Linked DNA regions of Homo sapiens: all the other regions are linked to region 1. Evidence: promoter capture Hi-C in human tissues and cell types (Jung and others, 2019). All regions are on one chromosome and are shown on one strand. Each heading gives the region's core, a stretch centred on a gene start or on the middle of the fragment in contact. The rest is flanking DNA. Distances are from core to core; before and after follow the strand shown.

Region 1 (4,933 bases), core at 1,285-3,784:
ATCTAAGAACTTTAATTTTTATAGATTATGATCTCATCTCTACAATTTTGAATTTCATGCTCAATAAAAGTTCCTTACTCTCTTTTTTTTTTTTTGAGACGGAGTCTCGCTCTGTCGCCCAGGCTGGAGTGCAGTGGCGCGATCTCGGCTCACTTCAAGCTCAGCCTCCCGGGTTCACGCCATTCTCCTGCCTCAGCCTCCCCAGTAGCTGGGACTACAGGCGCCCGCCACGACGCCCGGCTAATTTTTTGTATTTTTAGTAGAGACGGGGTTTCACCGTGTTAGCCAGGATGGTGTTGATCTCCTGACCTCGTGATCCGCCCGCCTCAGCCTCCCAAAGAAAAGTCCCTCACTCTTAAAGTTGCCTCCTCCTTCCCAGGGCTGGCTTCATGGGCATGCAACCCTGGAGAGTCTCACAGGCCCTGCGGTGGGAGGAGCCCCATGCTTGGTTTAACGCTCTGCCATTGCCATCTTAAAATTCTTAATTTAATTTTTTTTCTTTTTTTTGAGGTGGAGTCTCGCTCTGTCGCCCAGGCTGGAGTGCAATGGCACAATCTTGGCTCACTGCAACCTCCGCCTCCCAGGTTCAAGCGATTCTCCTGCCTCAGCCTCTGGAGTAGCTGGGATTACAGGCAGGAGTAACCACGCTCGGCTAATTTTTGCATTTTTAGTAGAGATGGGGGTTTCACCATGTTGGCCAGGCTGGTCTAGAACTCCTGACCTCAGGTGATCTGCCCACCTGGGCCTCCTAAAGTGCTGGGATTACAGGCATGAGCCACCAGGCCCGGCCTTAAAATTCTTAATAATGTAACAAAGGGTCTCACGTTTGCATTTTGCAGTGGACTCTGCAAGATTTGTAGCTTTGGACCACGTTTCTCTTTGCATTCAGATACCTTCTTTTTTGCCTTATTTGCTCATGCAGACCCGGAACAAATACGGAATTGCGGTGGGTAAATGTGGTGCAGAAAGTGAACAACTGGGTTTGTCCTGTCACTTTAGGCTTTTCCCTGCTGTCCCAGCTTCATGTCACTTACTTGCTATTAGATTTGGGAGTTCATTAGCTTCATTTTCCTGATGTATAAATAGGAATAATAGTAACAGCCTCTTTGGCTTTTGTAGGAAGTAAATGACATGAAGCGTATAAACAAATACTGCATGACAATAAATATTTGTCCTTATTTGTTGAGGACATCCAAAGGACATTCAGGGGCAAAAGTAATCCAAGAGTCAAGACTGAATGCCTAGTGCGGGAAAAGACACACAAGACAACATTTAGGGGAGCTGGTACAGAAATGACTTCCCAGGAAGGAAGTCTGTACCCCGCTGGCTGAGCCATCCTTCCCGGGCCTAGGCACCCTTGTCAGCGCAATGAGCAAGGGAGAGAAGGCAGGCTGCAGTGCAGCCCTCAGAAGGGCCAGAGCACTCCCTGGCTTCAGTCCTTCGCTCCAAGCCCTGTGTGGAGTGGGCTGTGGCTTGGTAACTAAATGCTACTTCAGGTCAAGAGCAGGGGATATATCTGGGCAGTTCTAGAGCATTCTAAACTATCTGGACACTAACTGGACAGTGGACGGTTTGTGTTTAATCCAGGAGAAAGTGGCATGGCAGAAGGTTCATTTCTATAATTCAGGACAGACACAATGAAGAACAAGGGCAGCGTTTGAGGTCAGAAGTCCTCATTTACGGGGGTCGAATACGAATGATCTCTCCTAATTTTTCCTTCTTCCCCAACTCAGATGGATGTTACATCCCTGCTTAACAACAAAAAAAGACCCCCCGCCCCGCAAAATCCACACTGACCACCCCCTTTAACAAAACAAAACCAAAAACAAACAAAAATATAAGAAAGAAACAAAACCCAAGCCCAGAACCCTGCTTTCAAGAAGAAGTAAATGGGTTGGCCGCTTCTTTGCCAGGTCCTGCGCCTTGCTCCTTTGGTTCGTTCTAAAGATAGAAATTCCAGGTTGCTCGTGCCTGCTTTTGACGTTGGGGGTTAAAAAATGAGGTTTTGCTGTCTCAACAAGCAAAGAAAATCCTATTTCCTTTAAGCTTCACTCGTTCTCATTCTCTTCCAGAAACGCCTGCCCCACCTCTCCAAACCGAGAGAAAAAACGAAATGCGGATAAAAACGCACCCTAGCAGCAGTCCTTTATACGACACCCCCGGGAGGCCTGCGGGGTCGGATGATTCAAGCTCACGGGGACGAGCAGGAGCGCTCTCGACTTTTCTAGAGCCTCAGCGTCCTAGGACTCACCTTTCCCTGATCCTGCACCGTCCCTCTCCTGGCCCCAGACTCTCCCTCCCACTGTTCACGAAGCCCAGGTGGGCCGTCGGCCGGGGAGCGGAGGGGGCGCGTGGGGTGCAGGCGGCGCCAAGGGCGCGTGCACCTGTGGGCGCGGGGCGCGAGGGCCCCTCCCGGCGCGAGCGGGCGCAGTTCCCCGGCGGCGCCGCTAGGGGTCTCTCTCGGGTGCCGAGCGGGGTGGGCCGGATCAGCTGACTCGCCTGGCTCTGAGCCCCGCCGCCGCGCTCGGGCTCCGTCAGTTTCCTCGGCAGCGGTAGGCGAGAGCACGCGGAGGAGCGTGCGCGGGGGCCCCGGGAGACGGCGGCGGTGGCGGCGCGGGCAGAGCAAGGACGCGGCGGATCCCACTCGCACAGCAGCGCACTCGGTGCCCCGCGCAGGGTCGCGATGCTGCCCGGTTTGGCACTGCTCCTGCTGGCCGCCTGGACGGCTCGGGCGCTGGAGGTGGGTGCCGCGCCTCGGAAGGCGGGGGGAGGCTGCACGGTGGGGACGCGATACCCCCCAAGACCTTAACCCAAGTCTTTAATGCAGAGAAGCCGGGGGTCCGTCAATGGGACCCCTCTCCTCTCCGCCCCCGCTTGCGGACGTCCAGCGCATCCCCGCTTTCGGCCCAGCCCTGCCCCAGGGAGTCGCGCTCCGGCCCGCTGAGAGGGAGCGGGCGAGGCGCTGGTCTCCCTGGTTCCGCGCCAGCCCGGGGCGAGAAGGGTAGGGGGCGACCCTGAGCCCAGACCCCGACTTAGTCCCTGCCTTGGAAGCGGGGGTCGGGGGAGGCGAGAGACATTCAGACAGGGGGGAAGGGGGAAGGAGCACGTGGGGAAAACCGAAAACGCAGCGTCCCTAAAGCCAGTCCTTCGCTCTTGAATCGTTGCCCTTTCCTTTCTCTTGGGCCCTGGGGAGGAGGAGGAGGAGTCGGGACAGCCCAGGAAGCTAGGAGCCCCTCGCTTTTCCCTGCGTTCTCCGCCTCGTTTCACCTTCCTCTCTCACCCCCATCCCCCTTCCTTGCTCCAACCTCTTTTCGCGGCTGCTGGCGGCGGCAGCCTGGGTGCGACCCTAGCCCGAGCCGGCGTCGGGGTCGCGCACCGCCTTCCACAGGCAAACTTTGTGCATGTCCGCGTCTCCCTTTTGTGTAACTTGCGAGAAATGGGAGGGGTCGGAGACCCATAGCCACCCCGCGCCTTCCCCAAGTCTGGACGTCCCGGGAGTTCGCTCGCACCCTAAGCTCTGTCTGAGAGGCAGAAGGTCCGCGGGAACAAAAGCCGCGACACCCCGCCCTCGCCGTGGGCCGAGCCGCGTTAGTCTCAGTGCGCCACCGAGGCTCCCGCCCGGCTCCCTTCCCGGGGCTGCGCGTCCGCCTGGGAGGGGGCAGAGACGCTGCCGGGGCTTCTGGCGGAGCCTCGGGGCCCCTCTGCTTCCCACCCTCGGATCACCTCCGAGGCTTAATTCTGTGCTGGGCTGTAAAGTCCTTGGCGGGGAGGAAATAAGGCGGAGAGTGGGATGTGCGTCTGGAAAGGGCAGTGGCGGATGGTGGGGAGGCACGGGCTCTGTCCTGTGCATCCAAGGAGGCGTTTGTCTGATTAAGGCGCGGCCTCTTCCCTGGCAGCTCTGGGGACTCTGGTTTAGTTCCCCTGGGGGCACAGGATGCTGGGGAGGGTCCGAAGGGTCTTTTTTTTAGGGTGCAGATAAAAGGATCGAATTGAGTGAAGATTAAGACGGAGAAGATGGCGCCTCTGCAGTGCAGCAAAGAAAAGCTGTGTGGAGGCTGCAGCCTAGTGAAATCCACCCACCACTAGGTGTATAACAAGTCTTCCCCATTCATCCAACTCTCGAACATTCAGCTAACGCCTGTGCACAATGACTGTTTTTCTTTACATCTGAAGATGCTTAGAAGTTGTTTGCATGACAGTTGGGCCAGAGGAGGCTGTATTTCACTTCGGACTTCGGTTGGGTTCCTGTTTGGCATCTTAACATTTGCAACCTTCCTTACCCGTTTTTCCCCTCTTTTCCCCCAGCCTCCTAGTAATTTTCCAAAAGAAAAAAAGCAATTTCCGGGCAGATGTTTTCCTGTAATTCCACTGAGGCTGTACAGACTATCACACCATTAGTTTTTTAGTTTCTAATTTGCAAGGTCATTGAACTTTTTTCTCTTCTGATTTTTACCCACAAGTGGCTCAGGAATCACCTTAGGGCTAGTTAAGACAGGTTGTTTTAAGAGTTAAAGAATTTCGTTTTCCATGTTTTAAAAAAATGCACTTAACTAAGAGAATTCTGATTTCTCTCATGACTTACTTACATTTATTTGTAGAATTATTCCAGTTTTCCCGAATGGTCTTACTACAGATTAAAAACCATACATTTAAGGAATTAAAAGCATATGATAACCGTATTTTTGAAGCTTTTGTCAAAACTTAAATATGTAACTTTGTTGAGCAATATTTCTTTCTGTATAAAAAGAGGAAGCATGTAGGCAGATTCGAATTTAGTTTTTGGTCTGTTTAATTGCATTAATATGCTCTTTCTGCCATCTTTTGGGACCTTTTCAGTAGCTATTGTTAACTCCTTTAAAGGGTGGAGGTGAGATTCACATTATGCCATTTTGCGAAGTGTTGGTAGAAGGGTAGGTAATTCAGTCTACTGAGG
Region 2 (4,719 bases), core at 103-2,602, 280 kb before region 1:
GATTTCATTCATTTTATAGAGAGTGGATAGGGACAAGAAGGGTTGCGTCAGATAACATAAAAGTGAGGGCTGAGAAGGCCGTGGTTTTTACGACTGTTCTTATGGAATATTTTGTTAGTTTTCTTCCAGAACTGTCCCATAGCACATGAGGCCTTCCACCTCCTAACGCTATTGCAATTTCTGGGATATTTAATATCTTTTGAAAGTAACTTTGAGCAAAGCTAAAGGAAAAATGGTAAATATTATTTTTCTTTGTGAAGCAGGCTCACTGTACACAGCTTACCATTTTCTCTGAGTCCAGTGAGATGGAACACACTCATACAGAACAAGTCACATGAAGCAGATTTATTACTTACAGACAGGCAGCAAAGGAGAGCAAAAGCCTAGGATTCATTATAAGCCAGTTCCCCGAGTCTCAGGAAAGCTGCTTGGGACAAATTGAGTCTTGACCGTGTCGTGTGACTCTCCACTTGCACGGCAGCTGAGGGACCCTGAACAGCAGGCTGCCCTGAGTTTATACCCGAGGGTCAGGTGAATTACTGGGCTTAAGCTTTGGAAGACATGCTGCTTCTAGTGGAGGACTGGAATAGAACCAAGGCCATTTCAGCCAGTCCCTCCCTATCTCAGGATTTTACAGTCCCAGCACATTTTACAGTTATTATTAAGAACAACTTTAATGCAAGTCTGTTTGAGTGTCAAAAAAAAATTTTAATAGAAAAAAAGGAACTACCAGTGAGAAGGTGGGGAGAACTGGGTCAGTCCAAGGCCACCTGGACAACTGTCCTGCATGTGGTTCTTCCCCTTTGAAATGAATTTAAGGAGTCTGTATGCGTCTAAAGTTAGAAATGTTTAGTCTATCACCATGAATATTCAATTATCTCTACATTTCCCATGACCAGTAATTAGCTCTGTGTCTGATACTTATTTAAGCATTCATAATAGGAGATGGATGTGGATATGGTATCAAAATATAGAGAATCCATTTTATATTTAAGAATGTAAAATCATTGCTCATTCCCAAATTAGTCAATTACAAAATTAAACTTACAAATCAATCAAATGTCCATGTCAGTTACTAGATTTTAATCTCTTACCCTCATATAACAATCAATGAGAGCCTCAAATCTAAAAATAGCAATACTTTCATTATAAGATTAGTGTTTTCCTTGAGTCAATAGTTCATGACATTTTTTAGCTTTCTCTAAAAGCTACTCCTGTAAGACGAGTCAAAGTAAAACAAGATAAACATGGACATTTTTCAGAAAACTGCTATCTTTATAATCAAGCTTCTTTTTCTGAAATAACAATGTTGCTTTCTAACTCTGAGCCAAAATAGAATGAGTTAGGGGTTCAAGGATTATATTCTAAGGAAGTAATGCTATTTTGATCCTGCCTAAAATTTCCCATTTTATATTGCGGAGTGACATAAAAAAATACACAAGATCTTCAATACATACAGAATGAAAATTAATTGAACCCAATATTGAAATTACTAAACCATCCTATTTCCTAAGATACAGCCAATGAAAAACAAAACATTCTAATTTCCCTAAAAAAGGAGAAGGGAAGGAAAATGGAGCTTATAAAGCTCTAACATGCTTGAGAAGGATGTGGACTACTGCTTCCAAGTATACATTTGGAGTAGCTAAACAAACTGATATGGTTAATAATTTTTCTCTTAAGCTCTCTCCATGTGATTCAGTCTCAACTACCGATCCCTAAACAATTTTTATTTGTCTAAAAACAGTGGAATTTTTTTTAAAAGATATAGCTCAAACAAAATTTTGAGGTTTTGGTTTATCTGTGACAGCTGCCTTTTTTCTGACTTAATTTCCCCCAACCCTGTGGTGCATAACCGCTTTCAATACCAATGATAATGAAAGATGGTCTTGGTTAGTTTTCCTCTTCTACGACATAAATTTTTCCAGGGATTTGTCTAGAAAGGATATGAGATGTTAGTGTGTGTGTGTGTGTGTGTGTGTGTGTGTGTGCGTGCAGTGGCCACATGTGGACTTTGAAGTTAGTCAGAATTGGATTTGAATCTCAGCTCAACCACTTACAAGACCTTGTTGAAGTTACATAATTTCTTTGAGCCCAATTTCCTCACTTGCAAATTGTAAGCCACTTAGTATGATCTGGTGCTTTGATTGTGCTTTCAAGAGCTATCTGTGATGGCTGACTCCACGTGTCAACTCGGCAAGACTATGGTGCCCAGCTGTTTGGTCAAACACTAGCCTTGATGTTGCTGTGAAGGTACTTGTGGATGTGATTAACATTTACAATCAGTTGACTTTAAATAAAGATTATGTTCCATAGTGTTGGTGGGCCTCATCCAATCAGTTGAAGGTCTAAAGAAGAAAGAATGAGGATTCCTGAGGAAGAAGCAATTCTGCTTCAAGACTCCAACATAGAAACTCTGCCTGAGTTTTCAGACTACTGGCCTGCCTTACAGAATAGGGACTTGCCAACCCACAAGTTCACATAAGCTAATTCTTTAAAAATGAGTCTCTCTCTCTATACACACAAACACACACATACACACACACACACACACACACACACACACACATATATACCCTATTGGATATATTTTCTGAAGAACTCTGACTAATACACTCATACTCTTGTTATGATGATGAAAGGAAAAGTTCTGTGTAGTGCTAGATAGTAAGTATGCAGGACATGTTGGTTTCTTACTCCTTTACCACCTCCTCCCAAAATGTTACAGGCAGTTCACTCATAAGGCTAGCTCTAAAAGCAAATTGGCCTTATTCTTTGAACTCAGGAGAGTCATGGAAGGGAGTAGAAGGAGAGAGAATCACAAGGGGTAGATGCTTCCAAAGGAAATAGTTATAGGTGTTGATATGTCTTTTGCTACAATTTACTCAGAAAAAGCTTCCTTGGACAGAAAAACGTTAAAAGTCTAGTGTGTCATTTAGCCTAGGCTGGATCTCACTCCACCAGAGGAGAAGGCCAGATGCCGGCTGGAGTCACTATATCTTAAATGAAAGCTATCAGCCTAGTTTTTGGATGCCATCTCACATCAAACTCAGGACCAAACTGTGCTTCACTTGGGCTCTGGCATCTAAAAAGTACATGGAGAAAAAGGATTCAAAAATAACTCCATCAGAAGAAACATGGCAAAGCCAGGCTAAGGTTCTTCTTTGTTGCTGAATGTGATAAAAAATAATGCAATACATTAAACGCCATCCCCACTCTTTATTCAAATTTCTATGGGAGAAACTTATACCAAAGTCAGTTCAGTTAAAGTGCTGATGCTATTCTCATAAGACATATTGATACCGTCTTATTTGTCAATAACTAGACAAATAATTCACTCTCTCATCTTTATCCAGACTCTCTGACAACTTTCTATAATGGGTTAAACCAATTTCTACTGGAAAAACATTTAATTTTATGATCATTGCTTCAGAAAACACAATCACAAATTTCTACAATCAAACTAAATCAATTCAAGACCTCAAAACTTTTGACAGCCTTCTTAATATATTGAAAATCTATTTTAAAATATAGGTGTCTAGTGAAGACATGAGGATCAGGTGCACTCAGGCCATAGTAGAATGTAAATTGGGCGGCTCTTCCTGGAGAGCAGCTTGGTAACATACACCAAATTGCAAGATGTGCATAATCTTTTAATTCCATGCTCCCACTTTGAGAAAATTGTCTACAAGAAATAATGGTACAAATATGCAAAGATGTGTGCATGAGAATCATAACGGCTATGTCAAATATGACATAAGACAAAATCAACATAATCATGCATCCATAAGGATCAACTCATAATGATCATGCATTCAGTGAAATACGATACGGCTGCCACAAGTGAATCACGCAAAACTACTTTATGTCCACTTATATTAAGTAGAAAAAAAGAGGATTTATAGCGTGCTCCCATTTTGCGTTTAACAGCAATTCCATCTATATATAAAATCCAGAATACTTTTATCTCTGGGTTGTTGGATGAAAGGGTACTATTATGTGTGTTTTGAAATTTTTATTGCTTTCTGAATAAACAGTCCATTAAATTTTATAATCAGAAATCAATAGTTATTTAAAAGACATTAATTTACTCTAGGTAAATTAATATAAAATATTTATTTTCACGTATTTTAAGGGGAAATCTTGATTGGGGGAGTTTCAGAAAATTGGTAATTCTTAATGACAGGCATAAGCAGAGGAGGATTTTTTTCAGATTGAAACAAAACAGAATTCTGTGAAATCCACGGAACCCACAAGAAAATATTTAAATGCTCATAACCCCACAAATAAGGATTTAGGCTGTGATCTACGGTACTGTGCAGTAAATTCCTCAGTATCTCTAAATCTGTGAAGGAGCATGAGCAGCCTGCCAATGAACGACTGAAGTATCAGGAGGACCAGTTCCAAGCACCGTCTGCCTATCATTGACTCTATTATGTGCAATTTGACAAAGCTTTTGTTATCCTCTCCGCTGGAGCTATTTTTACATTGTAAGTTTGTGTAGCAATTTCTCTCTGGGTACTTTTCCATTGATTCTCACAACAAGCCCTTCTAAAAAGGAAACGCAAGCCAGATATGTTTCAACATGTGTTCAGTGGTAAGGAATGCTCAGTCATTTTAGAAGAGGGATGATGTGTGGAACAGGGAAACAACTCTCATTTGTCTATTAAAGACAACAAACTAAAAGGGAGTAATCTGACTTTCTGCTCAAGGACTCCA
Region 3 (4,529 bases), core at 1,586-4,085, 300 kb after region 1:
CAGCCTAGGTGACAGAGCCAGACCTGTCTCAAAAAAAAAAAAAAAAAGAAGAGACTAATTTTGGCCTAACCATACACACCATTTTCTGATTTAGGCTAGTCAATCAGGAATGACTGTCTTGTAGAGGATCCTTGAATGGCCCTGTGTCTATTAATACGCTTCTGTTCCCTGTCCCCTACATACAAACATGTTAAGGCTCTACACTGGTATGACTTTGGGCATATACGAAAAATTGGAGTGGAAATTATTTATATAATTTTCTTGCTTTCATCATGCAGTCACTTTGTTGAATACATTTGCAGATCAAATCAGAATATGAAGATCCTTTATGGCTATTAAACCGAGAAAATCTATCCTCTGCTAACTAACCAGCTCTGAGGCAACTAGCAGAGGCAGCATCTCATTTCTAACATTGCTCTATTTCAAAATGTTTTAGAATAATTTCCAAAGTAAATGACTTTTATTGTCCATAAGATTTCTTGGACAACCTGTTTTACACATTCAGAGCATACAATTTTTAACTACCCTGGCCGGGTGCGGTGGCTCATGCCTGTAACCCCAGCACTTTAGGAGGCCAAGGCGAGTGGATCACTTGAGGTTAGTTCAAGATCAGCCTGGCCAACATGGGGAAACCCTGTGTCTACTAAAAACACAAAAAATACTCGGGCTTGGTGGCATGTGCCTGTAAGTCCAGCTACTCTGGAGCCTGAGGCATGAGAATCGCTTGAATCCAGGAGGCGGAGGTTGCAGTGAACCGAGATCATGCCACTGCACTCCAGCCTGGGCAACAGAGCAAGACTCTGTCTTAAAAAAAAAAAAAAAAAAAAATTACCCTGAACTACGTTCTTCCTGAGCTGAACTCTATTCCTCCAAACTAGGAGACTTTCTCAGTGTTTTCAACCTTCCCTCCTTCCATTTGTAAGATGGTCACAGATGTTTCATCTTGGTTCATTCATTTAAAACAGCTATTGCGTGCCTACTGCATATACTCAGACAATGCCAGGCACTAGCAATACAATGGCTAAAAAAAAATTTTTTAGAAGATGATCCTGGCCGGGCGCGGTGGCTCACGCCTGCAATCTCAGCACTTTGGGAGGCCGAGGCGGGCAGATCACGAGGTCAGAAGATCGAGACCATCCTGGCTAACACGGTGAAACCCCGTCTCTACTAAAAATAATTTAAAAAATAGCCTGGCGTGGTGGCGGGCGCCTGTAGTCCCAGCTACTCGGGAAGCTGAGACAGGAAAATGGCGTGAACCCGGGAGGCGGAGCTTGCAGTGAGCCGAGATCGCGCCACTGTACTCCAGCCTAGGCGACAGAGCAAGACTCCCTCTCAAAAACAAAAAAAAGATGGTCCTAATTTCAACACCTTGTATGTTAGGTCTCTGGATAAGCATTACCACCTTTAACAGCGGTTTATACAGTACAAATTGTATTTTGCCACAGATCTGCAATTTGAGTAGGGCTCAGTGAGGAACGCTCCTGTCTCCACACAGCACTCACAGAGGCAGCTGAACTGAAGGATGAGGAATGTGTTTCCAAGATGGCGCCCTCATGTGGCTGGTGAGTTGGTGTTGGCTGTCAGCTTGGGAGTTCGGCTGGGGTCCTCAGTTCCTCTCCACAAGCAATGTGCACCTCCATGTGGCCCTGGCTTTCTCAGAGCATGGTGGCTGGGTTTCAAGGATGAACATCCCAAAGAGAGAGGCAGAAACTGTATTGCCTTTTATGCCTCACCCTCAAAAGTTCCATAACATTACTTCTGTCATACCCAGTTGGTTCCAAGGCAACCACAAATGCCTGCCTAGGTCAAGGAAAGGGGACATAGATTCCATCTCTTGATGGGAAGAATGTCAAAGAACTTGTTTTAAAACTACCACATTTGGATAAATATACACATTCTATTAGGGATAAGTATGGGTAATGGCCATTTCCTGTCTTGGTCAGCTCAGCATAATTAACTAGTAATGAAAGACAAGGATGTTAATTCCCTTGGTAGGGCAATTTCTTTTTATAATTTCCATTCTGAACTCCAGGTTCCCAGTTGCCTGCTGAATATTTAGCAGACATCTCACGCTTAATGTGTCCAACATCTGACTCCAGATGTCTTGCTCCTCCTTTAGCCTTTCACTTCTCAGTAAATGATAACTCCATTCCTCCATTCCTGCACATACAGGTGCACACTGCACATGGAGAGGAACTGAGGCCCCCAGCCAAACTCCCAAGCTGACAGCCAACACCAACTCACCAGCCACATGAGGGCGCCATCTTGGAAACATACCCCCATCCTTCGGCTCAGCTGCCTCTGTTGAGTGCTGTGTGGAGACAGGAGCATTCCTCACTGAGCCCTACCCAAATTGCAGATTTGTGGCAAAATACAATTTTTACTTATAAACCACTGTTAAAGGTGGTAATGCTTATCCAGAGACTTAACATACAAGGTGTTGAAATTAGGACCATCTTTTTTTTTTTTTTTTTTTTTTTTTTTTGAGAAGGAGTCTCGCTCTGTCGCCCAGGCTGGAGTGCAGTGGCGCGATCTCGGCTCACTGCAAGCTCCGCCTCCCGGGTTCACGCCATTTTCCTGCCTCAGCCTCCCGAGTAGCTGGGACTACAGGCACCTGCCACCACCACGCCTCTGTGGATGCCGTGTGGAGCAGACAGGAGCATTCACCACTGAGCCCTACCCAAAAATCGCAACGCACTGGTTATCTGTTCACCTTATTCCCTTGTCTTCTTAGGTCTTTGATCAAATGTCACCATTTTGATGATGCTTTTCCTGACCATGGTTGCCAAAACTTAACTCTCTCCCCTGCCCTAACAGCATACGAAGAAGCATTTCATATATCCTTCTCTTCATCACTTTTCTCCTGGGCACCATCTGACTCATATGTTTTACTCTTTTATTTGCTTATTGCCTTCCTCTCACAAGAACGTAAACTTCGCAAAGACAAGATTTTTTTTTGTCTGTCTTCTTCACGGATGAATCCTTAGTGTTTAGTCTAGTGCCTTGTGCATGATGATGCTCAAGGAGTAGTTGTTGAATAAATGAGTGAATTGAAATTGGCACACTTTGGCAAGTAGCACAGAGAAAGGATCAAAAAGGTAGGAAAATGGGAGGAAGGAGAAGGACTTACTAAAATATTAGACACTAGAAAGTGAAACTGCTTTTGCAAAAATTATAACTGAGGAAACTATGACAGTGAAAGAGATCAAACCTAACTGACTCCATCTTGCTTCTAACCTTCAAGCTGTTCTTGTTCATTCCTTGGCATAGGCTGAACTAACCTTGGGAATAAATTTAGTTTATAGTTTAACTCTGAAACAAAATTGATAATAACCCTTTCCCAAGACTAACATATTAACTACAAGATTAGAAACTACAGTTTAGGGGCCATGCGACCTCCAGCTCCAAGAGTCTGAACCTCCCCAAATTGCTCCTGGGACTAACATCACTACTGTAAAACCTAAGATCAGTGCTTGAGATATTTTGCAGACCCTGCACTCGACGCACCAGCTGACACCACCCAGACCGGTAATCTGGCTCAACCAATTCTGCAATCCCACCCAGGAACAGAAGACAGCAAGAACTCACTTTGACCTCCTATGATTTCATCTTTAACCCAACCAATCAGCACTCCCCACTTCGAGTCCCTACACACCAAATTATCCTTCGAAACACCAGTCCCTGAATGCTCAGGGAGACTGATGTGAGTAACAATAAAACTCTTGTCTCCCACAAAGCTGGCACTGCGTGAACTATTCTTTCTCCTTTGTAATTCCCCTGTCTTGATAAATTGGCTCTGTTTAGGCAAGCAAAGTGAACCCATTGGGCGTTTACAAAATAACCAACATAGCAATATATTTTTTCTTTCTCAAGATCCATTCATAAATGGATTTGAATATTCTTAATGGTAGATTGGCTGGACCAAAGTGAAATGTCTATGTTTATGTCAGTTTCCTATGAGAGTTTCCTCTCCATGGACCTGGGGGAAATGGGCTGGAGGACCTGGCAGAGAAAAACAGGCTTCTGATAAATTGCCTCCACTGTTCCCATTCATCCTTCAGAACACCAGAGGGTTTTATCTATGAGACAGCTCCCCTTTCACGTTTAGCAATAGAGCCCTAACAATAAAAAAAGGAAAGCAATCATTTGATGAAAATTATACCTATTACTGAAGAATTTTATTTGTCTTCTTAGGTCTTTGATCAAAATTGTTCTTAGAAATTATTATAAAAGCTTTGGTGAATTACACAAAACCCTGGAATACAGATACTTAATAGAGGAAGAAAAATGGCAAACTCAGAGAAATAGAAACAACTCAGGAGAATTCAACCAAAGGCACATATAGCCTAGAATCTTATTAAAGATTCAAGAATTCCAGAAAGGGCCAGACGCGGTGGTTCACACCTGTAATCCCAGCTCTTTGGGAGACTGAGGCGGGTGGATCACGAGGTCAGGAGATCGAGACCATCCTGGCTAACATGGTGAAACCCCGTCTCTACTAAAAATACCAAAAAAAACAAAAATTAGCC
Region 4 (4,731 bases), core at 1,138-3,637, 260 kb after region 1:
GAGGCTGAGGCAGGAGAATGGCGTCAACCCGGGAGGCGGAGCTTGCAGTGAGCCGAGATTGCGCCACTGCACTCCAGCCTGGGCGACAGAGCAAGACTCCGTCTCAAAAAAAAAAAAAAAAAAAAAAGGCGCCTTGTGGCTGCATCCTCCAGAGGCAGCAAAAACTGTTCTCACATGGCAGATGCACATAAAGGGGCCTGTGCTGGTTTCCTCTAGCCCTTTTAGAAGGCAGTAGTCCATTCGGGGGCACGGGGTGGAACTGTCATGACTTGATTTCCAGAAGACCCCATCTCTCACTACTACCACAGTGGAGATTTAAGTTTCAACACATGACTTTGGGGGACATTCAGACCATAGCAAGCAGTGAGGAGACTATCGTAATTATCCAGGCGAAAAGTAATCATATTCCTAGGGGCGGTGAGGGTGGTGTGGAAAAGCAAGCAGGAAATGGCTGAGAGAATTCAGAAATAGAATGCAAAAGGATTTGTCGGTAGTGTGAGTACTGGACACGAAGAAATACAGGGAGTCCTGGATGGCTCTGAAGGATTCAAGCCTGTGACTGGGAGGGAGAATGGTTCTGCCATGATTAGAAAACAGGAAAGGTGGAAGGGAAAGCCAGGGACCTTGAGTACAGTTGTGTACCTACCAAGTGCATGGATCAGGAGGGAGCCCTAAGTTGGTATCTCCAGCAAACTGTTGGAAATATACAAATTTGAGTGGGAGGGAGAAGTCAAAGCTGGGGAAGTACATTTCAGATTCACCCAAAGGTAGGAGATCTTTAGAGTTTCAAGAGTCGATGGGATTTCCAAAGGGGAGAATTGTAGAAAGAGATGGAAAGAGATACAAGAAGAAAATGACAGGGATGAAGAGAGGAGAAAAAAAGAGTAAAAAGAGTTATTCAGAGATGTCACAGGGAAGAAGATAAGTACTGTGTATGCGAAACAGTGAGAACATTTCCAAATAAAGGACATGGTAAGTGATAGTAGATACCACAGACCCAAGAACAGCGTAGCCCCTGGGGAGTTCAAGAGCTTTCTCGCTGGCAAAGGTTATTTCCTGTCAAGATGAATGTGTATGCACCAATAATTATTAGTATTCCAGAATATCCTCTCTTTAGCATAGTAAGTGCTTAACAGTCACAAGCAAAAGATTTATATAAAAGAAATGCTCATTTAATTTATTTAATCAGACATTGGCTAAGTTATTAGCCGCTACCTATGGCTTTGTAAAACATGAAAAAGTTGGAGGAAATCTAATGAGGGTCTTTTATCTGTAAGGGAAAGGTCATCATGGGCATCAAGTATTGAATTTTAGAAACGGTGCCACAGTGAATAGGGATATATTATAACTCAGATTAGACTTCAAAAGGACTAATTTGCTTGGGACTTCCATCATTTAAAATCACTTGCAATAAAACTGACTACATGAAAAGATATTAATCACAAGCTTTAATGCTATTCCATCAAATTATTTTAATGGGTATATTTGAACAGAATTTTAATTTTTCAGATACATTTTTTGTCAATAGAAAAGAGAATTTGAAAGATGATTGTAAAATGTTACAAATCAAATTTAAATCCTGATCTTATTTTCATTTTCTCTAGCAATAAAACTAACCAGTGATGTGTCTGAAATATATACTACAGCAAACTCTTGACACAGCTATGATTGGAAAATGAGACATTTTGGTTAATCAAATATTATTGTTAATAGTGCAGTGCTGTCTGTCGGTCTCTAATTTGTAAAAATCAGAGAAAAACATGGTGAATCTTTGGTGACATAAGAGAAGACTCACAAATCTTCATATCCTGGGGTCAGTTTTTAAAGCAGTAATTACACATGATACAAGATTATATTCTAAGCTCTCTTTTTCCAGTAAGAAAAGATAAGTCAATGATGTTCCATAAAGCTGATTCTTGTTTAATCAATTTTTAAAGTGGGGGGGTAGGCGGCACTGACAGCATTCTTTGGAAAGGGAAGCAACAGAGGAGAAAGGCAGGATATTTGGTGTCTGCTCACATTGGGAAATACGGGGAGCCAGGGGTGGTTAAGTCCAGAGAAGGCTGGATGTCTGTCTGCAGGGCTACATCTGGAAGGGCAAGGGAACAGTTTCCTTGTTGCCTCAGAGCATAGGTCATGCAGCACAAGAGGAGCATTTAGGAAATGCAGATTTTTTTTCAAGGCAAGACAGTGAAAACTATTCAAGAAGGTAGCAAACTACTGGCCCTTTAATGCTTTTCTTATCCTTGCAAGTGTGCAAGGCAAGACAGGAGATTGTCTGTTGTCTTTCAGCTTGAATGAGATTGTGCCTCACTTACTGCCGCCACACCAAAGCCTGGCGTTTATTCCTGTGCGATCATTGTATACTAGGGACGTCTAACTGTGTCAGGAGGAAATGGCAGCTGAGCCCCTGTGGCCTTTCACCTCTAGCAGTGCCACGCTGCAGCACATTGGCCGGCTGCCATGCTCCTGCCTGCAGTCCTGCCAGCAGCTCTTGTGAGCTGCGACTTTGCATAAGTAGCTTGAATGCCATGTGCCTCAGTTTTCACATCTGTAAAAGGGAGATGATAATGGTACCTATGTCATGGCTCTAAACGCGATCATGCACGTGAAAGCAGTTGAAGTCTTGCCTGGCAGAAGTAAATGGTGGCTGCTGCTGCTGCTGCTGTTGTGATTGTTGTTACTCACCAAAGAGATGGTTTTGTTTGGTTTAGATGAGCTGCTTCAGAAAGAGCAAAACTATTCAGATGACGTCTTGGCCAACATGATTAGTGAACCAAGGATCAGTTACGGAAACGATGCTCTCATGCCATCTTTGACCGAAACGAAAACCACCGTGGAGCTCCTTCCCGTGAATGGAGAGTTCAGCCTGGACGATCTCCAGCCGTGGCATTCTTTTGGGGCTGACTCTGTGCCAGCCAACACAGAAAACGAAGGTAAGAGTCCCCTGAGCCAGCAAGGGCGTTCTGGGAGGTATATATACACATACATAACGTGTGTGCAAGAGAGAGAGTTATCTTTTGTATGTTCTTGAGTGGTGAATTTTTTTTGATGTAGTCATAAATATTTTCATTATAATTTTACTTTAAAAAGTAAATACTAGGAGTTACTATGTCATTAAAATAATATATCTGTGTAAATTATTCTTTATATTTTTTATGCTGCAAAGCATGTAAACTGCCAATTGTTGGAAAAGACAACAACTCCATTGTATAGGTGGCAAAACAAAATGGTAATGATTTACATAACATTTGCAGGTAAAGGGCCTCTTGTTTCGCACATGTCCAGGTTTGCATTCTAGGGAATATTATCCTTCGAGTGAACACTCCCGGACGAAGGGGAGCCACAGTGTATTATTGAAGAGGCAGTTCTTCACAAGGAAAATGTGTGGCAATAACATTCTTCTAATTTTTATTTTCCAGTTCCTCTTCTTAATATAAAATGGTACATTATATAACAAAAGTGGATACATAAAGAGCATGTACTGTATATCATATTATTATGTTTATGACTTTTTCAAATGAGGAAATGGAGGCACCAGGAGACTAAGTTCTTAAGTGATGACTTTTGGTAGGAATTTTTTAGAAATGTTTTTTAACTGTGAGGTATATTGTTCCCTCTGGAATGGAAGCACAAAATTCAACTTGTGTTTATGACGTAATGACCTAGAATGCCACCTTCCAAAAAAGCAGATAGATAGTGAAATAAGGAAAAATTACAGTTTACCAACAGAGAGGAGTTTTGAGGGCCTGCAGAGATGCAGATTTGACAGGCACCAAAGTAGTCTTCACTGGCTACTTATTCTTACATGAAATTTCAGATTGAATTAAATGTTAAAGGCAAAGATAGAGAACTACATATAAATAAAATTTAATTTTGCTTAAGACTTAATTTGTGTTTAGAAAATTAAATTTAAGGCAGCTGCCAAAATTAAGGAGCACATTGCTCTAAATGTTTTTTCCTTTGGTACCTCAGAGAAGTAAGATTCTTCTCTATCAACAAATTTGAGCAGTAGATGGCATCCTTTTTCACAGGGATTTCTTAGCAGAAACACCTGTTCAGGCAAGAATATCTTTCAGCTTCTTTTATCTTTTTCTACATGTTCAGAAGTATACAATTACACACAAACACCTTGATTTCTAGATACAAATAACATGTTTTTTAAGAACACAACAGCACTTTACCTGATTTTCTTTATCAAAGCAGCAAATGTTGATGGAGATTTCATATTTATAATATACCTTATAGGCCAGGCATCGTGGGTCACGCCTGTAATCGCAGGACTTAGGGAGGCTGAGGTGGGCAGATCGCAAGGTCAGGAGATCGAGACCATCCTGGCTAACATGGTGAAACCCCGTCTGTACTAAAAATACAAAAAAAAGTTAGCCGGGCGTGGTGGCGGGCACCTGTAGTCCCAGCTACTCGGGAGGCTGAGGCAGGAGAATGGCATGAACCCGGGAGGCGGACGTGGCCAGTGAGCTGAGATCACACCACTGCACTCCAGCCTGGGTGACAGAGCGAGACTTTAAATTTAAAAAAAATAAATAAATAAAGTAAAAAATATATATACCTTATAACATGCAATTAGTACTAAATCTAAATATAATATTAGACCTTAAGTGTACTGGACAAGTTTTTTCTAAAGAACCATTGCAGAAAATATATAGACTATTTTCACAATGTGAATCATCACCCCAAATTTGTTTCCTTAATTTGAAAAAGGGCACCTTA
Region 5 (4,649 bases), core at 1,953-4,452, 320 kb before region 1:
ACACACCGGCTAATTTTTGTATTTTTCGTACAGGCAGGGTTTCACCATGTGGCCAGGCTTGTGTTGAACTCCTGGCTCAAGGGATCAGCACTCCTCAGCCTCCTAAAGTGCTGGGATTACAGGTGTGAGCCACTGCCCCCAGCCGCTCAATATATACTTAATGAGTGAAGTCGTGAATGTCGCTATCTAGTGGTAGTCAGTTAGAATTGTAGGCAAAATGACTGAGGGATAAATCAAACATCTAAGGTGTTTTGTTTTTCAAAAACGAGTTTGTTTCTCCCTCATGTAAAGGGAACAGGAGTTGATATAGCATCTCCATGTTGTTACTGGGGATACAATTATACCTGTTTCAGTACTACTGAGTCAATACTGCTTTTCCAAATATTGGTGTTAAACAGTTAAATGAATCACTTTCATGTACATAGCATTAAAATGTTCTAGAAACTTCTGTAACTATGATTTACTGCATTTAGATTTTGACATATAGTATGTTGTGTTGTGCAGTCTCAAAGCTGTACTGACAACTAACCAAATGATGACATTTGGTATCCACACAGTTAAATATATATCTTATATTATATATATTATACATACATAAAACAATATGTATGTGCATGTATATAAAACCTTACAGAAAACTGAAAAATCGTGTTTGATTTTTTTAATATGACCATTTTTGAATCATATGTATTCGACTCTCATTAAATCTATATTGGCACAAAATCATGTAAGAATTTGGCACTTGTTCAGATAATTCAGTCAGTGCAAATAAATGCTAACCAGGCAGTTCTTAAAGGGTACTTTTTGTTCATCAATCAAAGCATTTACCATTGAACTCTAGTGATAAAGTGTTATTCTGTAGATCACCCTACAATCTACAACATATTCAAGAGCACTTTTTATTCTCATTTTGTATACTACTTTGACATCGAAGTAATGTATAGATTTCTTAAAGATCTCTCACTGAGCCATAAAGTTTAATTCTACGTAAGATATGAGGAACAATCCCAATTAATGAAATTGAATGCAGTCTCTTGCTTTCCTGGTTCTGATATGCTTTTTTAGAACTTTTCTACAGGATCCCAGAGTACCTGTATGTTCCTTAAAACTGCCATTTCCACATTAAATATTTGCTTTTGTTTAAACTGTATAGCAATTTTGGCAAAGGAATTGTATTAGGTAAGATTAGGTTGGGTAGCATATCACACACACATACATTCACACTCAAACTAGAATAACAGAGACTTTAATAATTTTTTTTAAACTAGTTTGTTTCTCGTGCAAAGGAAATGGGAGTTGATACAGCATCTCCATGTTGTTATTAAGGATACAAACTCCATCAAACTCATACCTCTTCCATCCCTAGGATATGGCTCTTGTCTTCATGGTCCACCTTGGAGACTAGAGCTCAGCCATTACACTCCTATTTCAGAAAGCTGAAAGGAAGGTAAGACAGAAAATGGGAGAAAAATCCCATTCCAGCCATCTTTTAAGGAGGTTTCCTGAGAATTGACACAAAATATTTTATTACAACTTATTTTCCAAAACTCAACATGTAAAAAACAAAACAAAACAAAACACTAGCTTTAAGGCTACCTGGAAGATGTAGTACTCGCCAGGCATGGTGGCTCATGCCTGTAATCCCAGCACTTTGGGAGGCTGAGGCAGGCAGATTGCTTTACCTCAGGAGTTGGAGACCAGCCTGGCAACATAGCGAAATCCTGTCTCTACAAAAATTACAAAATTAGCTGGTAATGGTGACGTGTGCCCATAGTGCCAGCTACTAGGGAGGCTGAGGTGGGAGAATCACTTGAGCCCAGAGGTTGAGACTTCAGTGAGCCACTGCACTCCAGCCTGGGTGACGCAGTTAGACCTTGTCTGGAAGGAAGGAAGGAAGGAAGGAAGGAAGGAAGGAAGGAAGGAAGTAGGGGAAGATGTAGTCTTTATTTTAGTCAACCCTCAGACTTCTTTTATCAAGGAAAATGTAGAAAATGAATATTGGGTTACACAATTGTCTCTGTCATGGGGCTTGAGTCAATAAATCACGTAAATTTATTCATTCAAAGAGATATTAGTTTCCAGTTTTATTATCATGAGGCTAACAGAAAGAAGTTATCTATAAAGCCCCAAGAAAGAGGATATATTGAGTGAAGTTATTAAGGGGAGTCACCAGAATGAAAGAAAAAAAAAAAGCAAAATAAAAAAACATTATTAGCATATTTGGATTTTACAGATTTTTTTTTTTTTTTGCAAGTAATGTAGACTTACTGGAAAAATTACATGGATTGGTCTTCCTACCCTCCTAAGCATTTTACACTTGGAGTAGTAACAATATTTAATAACAATTTAACTATTCGATATTATGGTTTTCTTATCTGATACACGTATACATAGATGTACATGTAACCAGACTCATAGAGATAAAAATAGAAATAGAGATAGTTCTGAGATCCTACGATTAATATAAGTAAATACTGTTAATATTGAAAATGATACTCCATTGAGTTTGTTTTTCTATTATTTTCTGTATTTATTTAAGCAACAGAGAAGAAAATGCATTATTTTTAAGTTAAGCAAGTCAAAGTGTTACTAAAATTGCCAATGATTTATAATAAAACATTGTATTCAAGGGTATTACAGTATTTTAATGAATTGGCCAAAAGAATGAATTATTGAGGAAGTAGGATGATCTGATATAGAATTTTGCCAAGATTTATTCTCATGTATGTAGTCGACTTTCAGCGCTGTAGTAGGAATAGGATTTTTATCATTGCTTAATTCATCTCATGTGTATCATCACAAATAAATAAGTCGACTAAATATTACCTTCTTTAACAAAAGATAAAAATGCTTTAGCTTCACTTATAATTTTTTTATTTTAATAAGAAATAAACCTACTTTAAGTTTATTCTTTTGAAGCTATGGTTACTTTTTCCAGAGAACTCTCTCTTCTGATACTTTTACCTTTGACTTATTTCAAAGGTAAAGGTATTTTATTTCAAACTCTTATTTCCATATGGAAGTTTATCCTAACAAAAATATTCTAGAATTTTCCCCACTTTTTGTATAGGTGTAAAATATCCGTGTGGTATCAAATATAGATATCAAATATCCGCATGGCCTTTTTAATTTTTCTACTTTATTGGGACTGCTGTTACTAAATTATTACATAGAATATTCATAAGCCCTTTGATTTATAGTTTTATAAAATGCATTTGTAAATTGGGTCGTATCCGAGAAGAAGATAAATATTACTCTGGCGTACTTTTCATATCTGCTATTTTCCTTAAATATTATTTAATATTAATAGTAAAACCACATCAAGATAACTAGTAAGCTGCTGTATAGCAGTGCTAAGCCTAAAAGTGTTACTGCAACATGGCAACATTATCAGAATCTTTTTTTACTCATGAAAAGCGATTTATGGAATAAAATATATTATCTCTGAGCTTTGTTATAAAAGACAGTTTCATATTATTTCAGCCACCATAGATACATTTAATATCTTGATTATAAAATCTCATTTTGCAAAAAAAGAAAAAAAAATTAGCTAAATTAGAACCTAGAAACAGTCCTGCACAGGCCAACTGATTTTTGACAAAGGTGCAAAAGCAATGCGATGGGGGGATGAGGAATGCTTTTAATAAATGGTACTGAAGTAGCTGGCTATCCACAGGCAAAATAATCTGGTAATAATGAACCTCAACCTAAATCTAATACCTCGTACAGAAATTAAACAAAAATAGATCATAGGTTTAAATATCAAATGTAAAATAATCAGTCTTTTAGAAAGAAGCATAGGAGAAAGTCTTCAGGACCTAGGGCTTCATGAAAAGTTCCCACGTATGACCCCAAAGCACAATCCATAAAAGAAAAAAAATGATAGATTGGACTTTATTTAAAAACTTTTGTTCTGTGAACGACCCTGTTGGGAGAATGAAAAGATGTGCTACAGACCAGTAAAAATATTCGCAAACTACATATTTTGTAAAGGACTCAAATAATTCTCAAAAACTCAACAGTAAAATAACCAAGCAATCCAATTAGAATATGGGCAAAAGACTCAGGTGGACATTTCACTGAAGAAGATGAATGGCAAATAAGCTTTCGAAAACATGTTCAACCTTGCTAGCCATTACGGGAATGCAAATTAAGGCCATGATGAAATACCACTACACTTAATGCTTTATCCGTTAAAACAGCTAAAAAACAGATTATAAAACTAGATACTGGCAAGGACGCAGAGAGGATCTCTCATACCTTGCTGGTAGGAATGTAAATAACTTGGAAGTTTCTTTAAAACTCAAACATACATTTATCGTACATCCCAGTAATTGCACTTCTGGGCATTTATTGCAGAGAAATGAATACTTATGTCCACACAAAAATCTGTACATGATTGTTTATAGCAACTTTATTTGTCAAACCAAAATGCCCTACAATAAATAATGGTTAAACAAAGTGTGTTATAGCCATATCATGGACTGCTTGCTCATCTAGGAATGAACTACTGATACATGCAGAAACTGGAATGGATTCCAAAGGCATTACGCTGAGGGAAAAAAGACTATCTCCAAAACTCACATGCTGTATGATTCCATTTGTATAATCTTCTTGAAATGACTAAATTACAGAAACGGAGAACAGAT

What was found. The method cuts DNA at HindIII sites, captures the fragments that hold promoters and counts their contacts. A contact is called where the count stands out against the background at its distance.
Region 2: a contact is called between a fragment that was not itself captured here and the fragment with the promoter of APP in region 1, in 3 of the 25 tissues and cell types used here (mesenchymal stem cells, mesendoderm cells and thymus).
Region 3: a fragment that was not itself captured here is called in contact with the fragment with the promoter of APP in region 1 in 7 of the 25 tissues and cell types used here (aorta, dorsolateral prefrontal cortex, heart left ventricle and 4 more).
Region 4: a fragment that was not itself captured here is called in contact with the fragment with the promoter of APP in region 1 in 4 of the 25 tissues and cell types used here (dorsolateral prefrontal cortex, lymphoblastoid cells, mesenchymal stem cells and 1 more).
Region 5: a fragment that was not itself captured here is called in contact with the fragment with the promoter of APP in region 1 in 1 of the 25 tissues and cell types used here (mesenchymal stem cells).

The regions. Positions count from the first base shown.
Region 1 is chr21:26,168,371-26,173,303 of GRCh38, reverse strand. It overlaps APP (amyloid beta precursor protein), which reads left to right and starts at 2,534. Exons shown (of 18, transcript NM_000484.4): 1 at 2,534-2,740. The coding sequence starts at 2,684. APP-DT (APP divergent transcript) reads right to left here and starts at 2,437. Exons shown (of 4, transcript NR_186396.1): 1 at 2,252-2,437. RefSeq lists silencers at 2,182-3,011, 3,512-3,781 and enhancers at 2,799-3,323, 3,822-4,031. The HindIII fragment of the contact is 4,835 bases long and covers 235-4,933 here.
Region 2 is chr21:26,449,144-26,453,862 of GRCh38, reverse strand. The region is part of intron 1 of CYYR1-AS1 (CYYR1 antisense RNA 1); the gene reads right to left. Among named protein-coding and RNA genes, the nearest start is that of CYYR1-AS1, 46 kb to the right of the region's middle. The HindIII fragment of the contact is 4,645 bases long and covers 1-3,674 here.
Region 3 is chr21:25,869,495-25,874,023 of GRCh38, reverse strand. No RefSeq gene overlaps it. Among named protein-coding and RNA genes, the nearest start is that of GABPA, 140 kb to the right of the region's middle. The HindIII fragment of the contact is 8,437 bases long and covers 1-4,529 here.
Region 4 is chr21:25,909,946-25,914,676 of GRCh38, reverse strand. APP (amyloid beta precursor protein) reads left to right here. Exons shown (of 18, transcript NM_000484.4): 14 at 2,715-2,936. Among named protein-coding and RNA genes, the nearest start is that of GABPA, 180 kb to the right of the region's middle. The HindIII fragment of the contact is 8,779 bases long and covers 1-4,731 here.
Region 5 is chr21:26,485,517-26,490,165 of GRCh38, reverse strand. The region is part of intron 2 of CYYR1 (cysteine and tyrosine rich 1); the gene reads left to right. The region is part of intron 1 of CYYR1-AS1 (CYYR1 antisense RNA 1); the gene reads right to left. Among named protein-coding and RNA genes, the nearest start is that of CYYR1-AS1, 82 kb to the right of the region's middle. The HindIII fragment of the contact is 7,460 bases long and covers 1-4,649 here.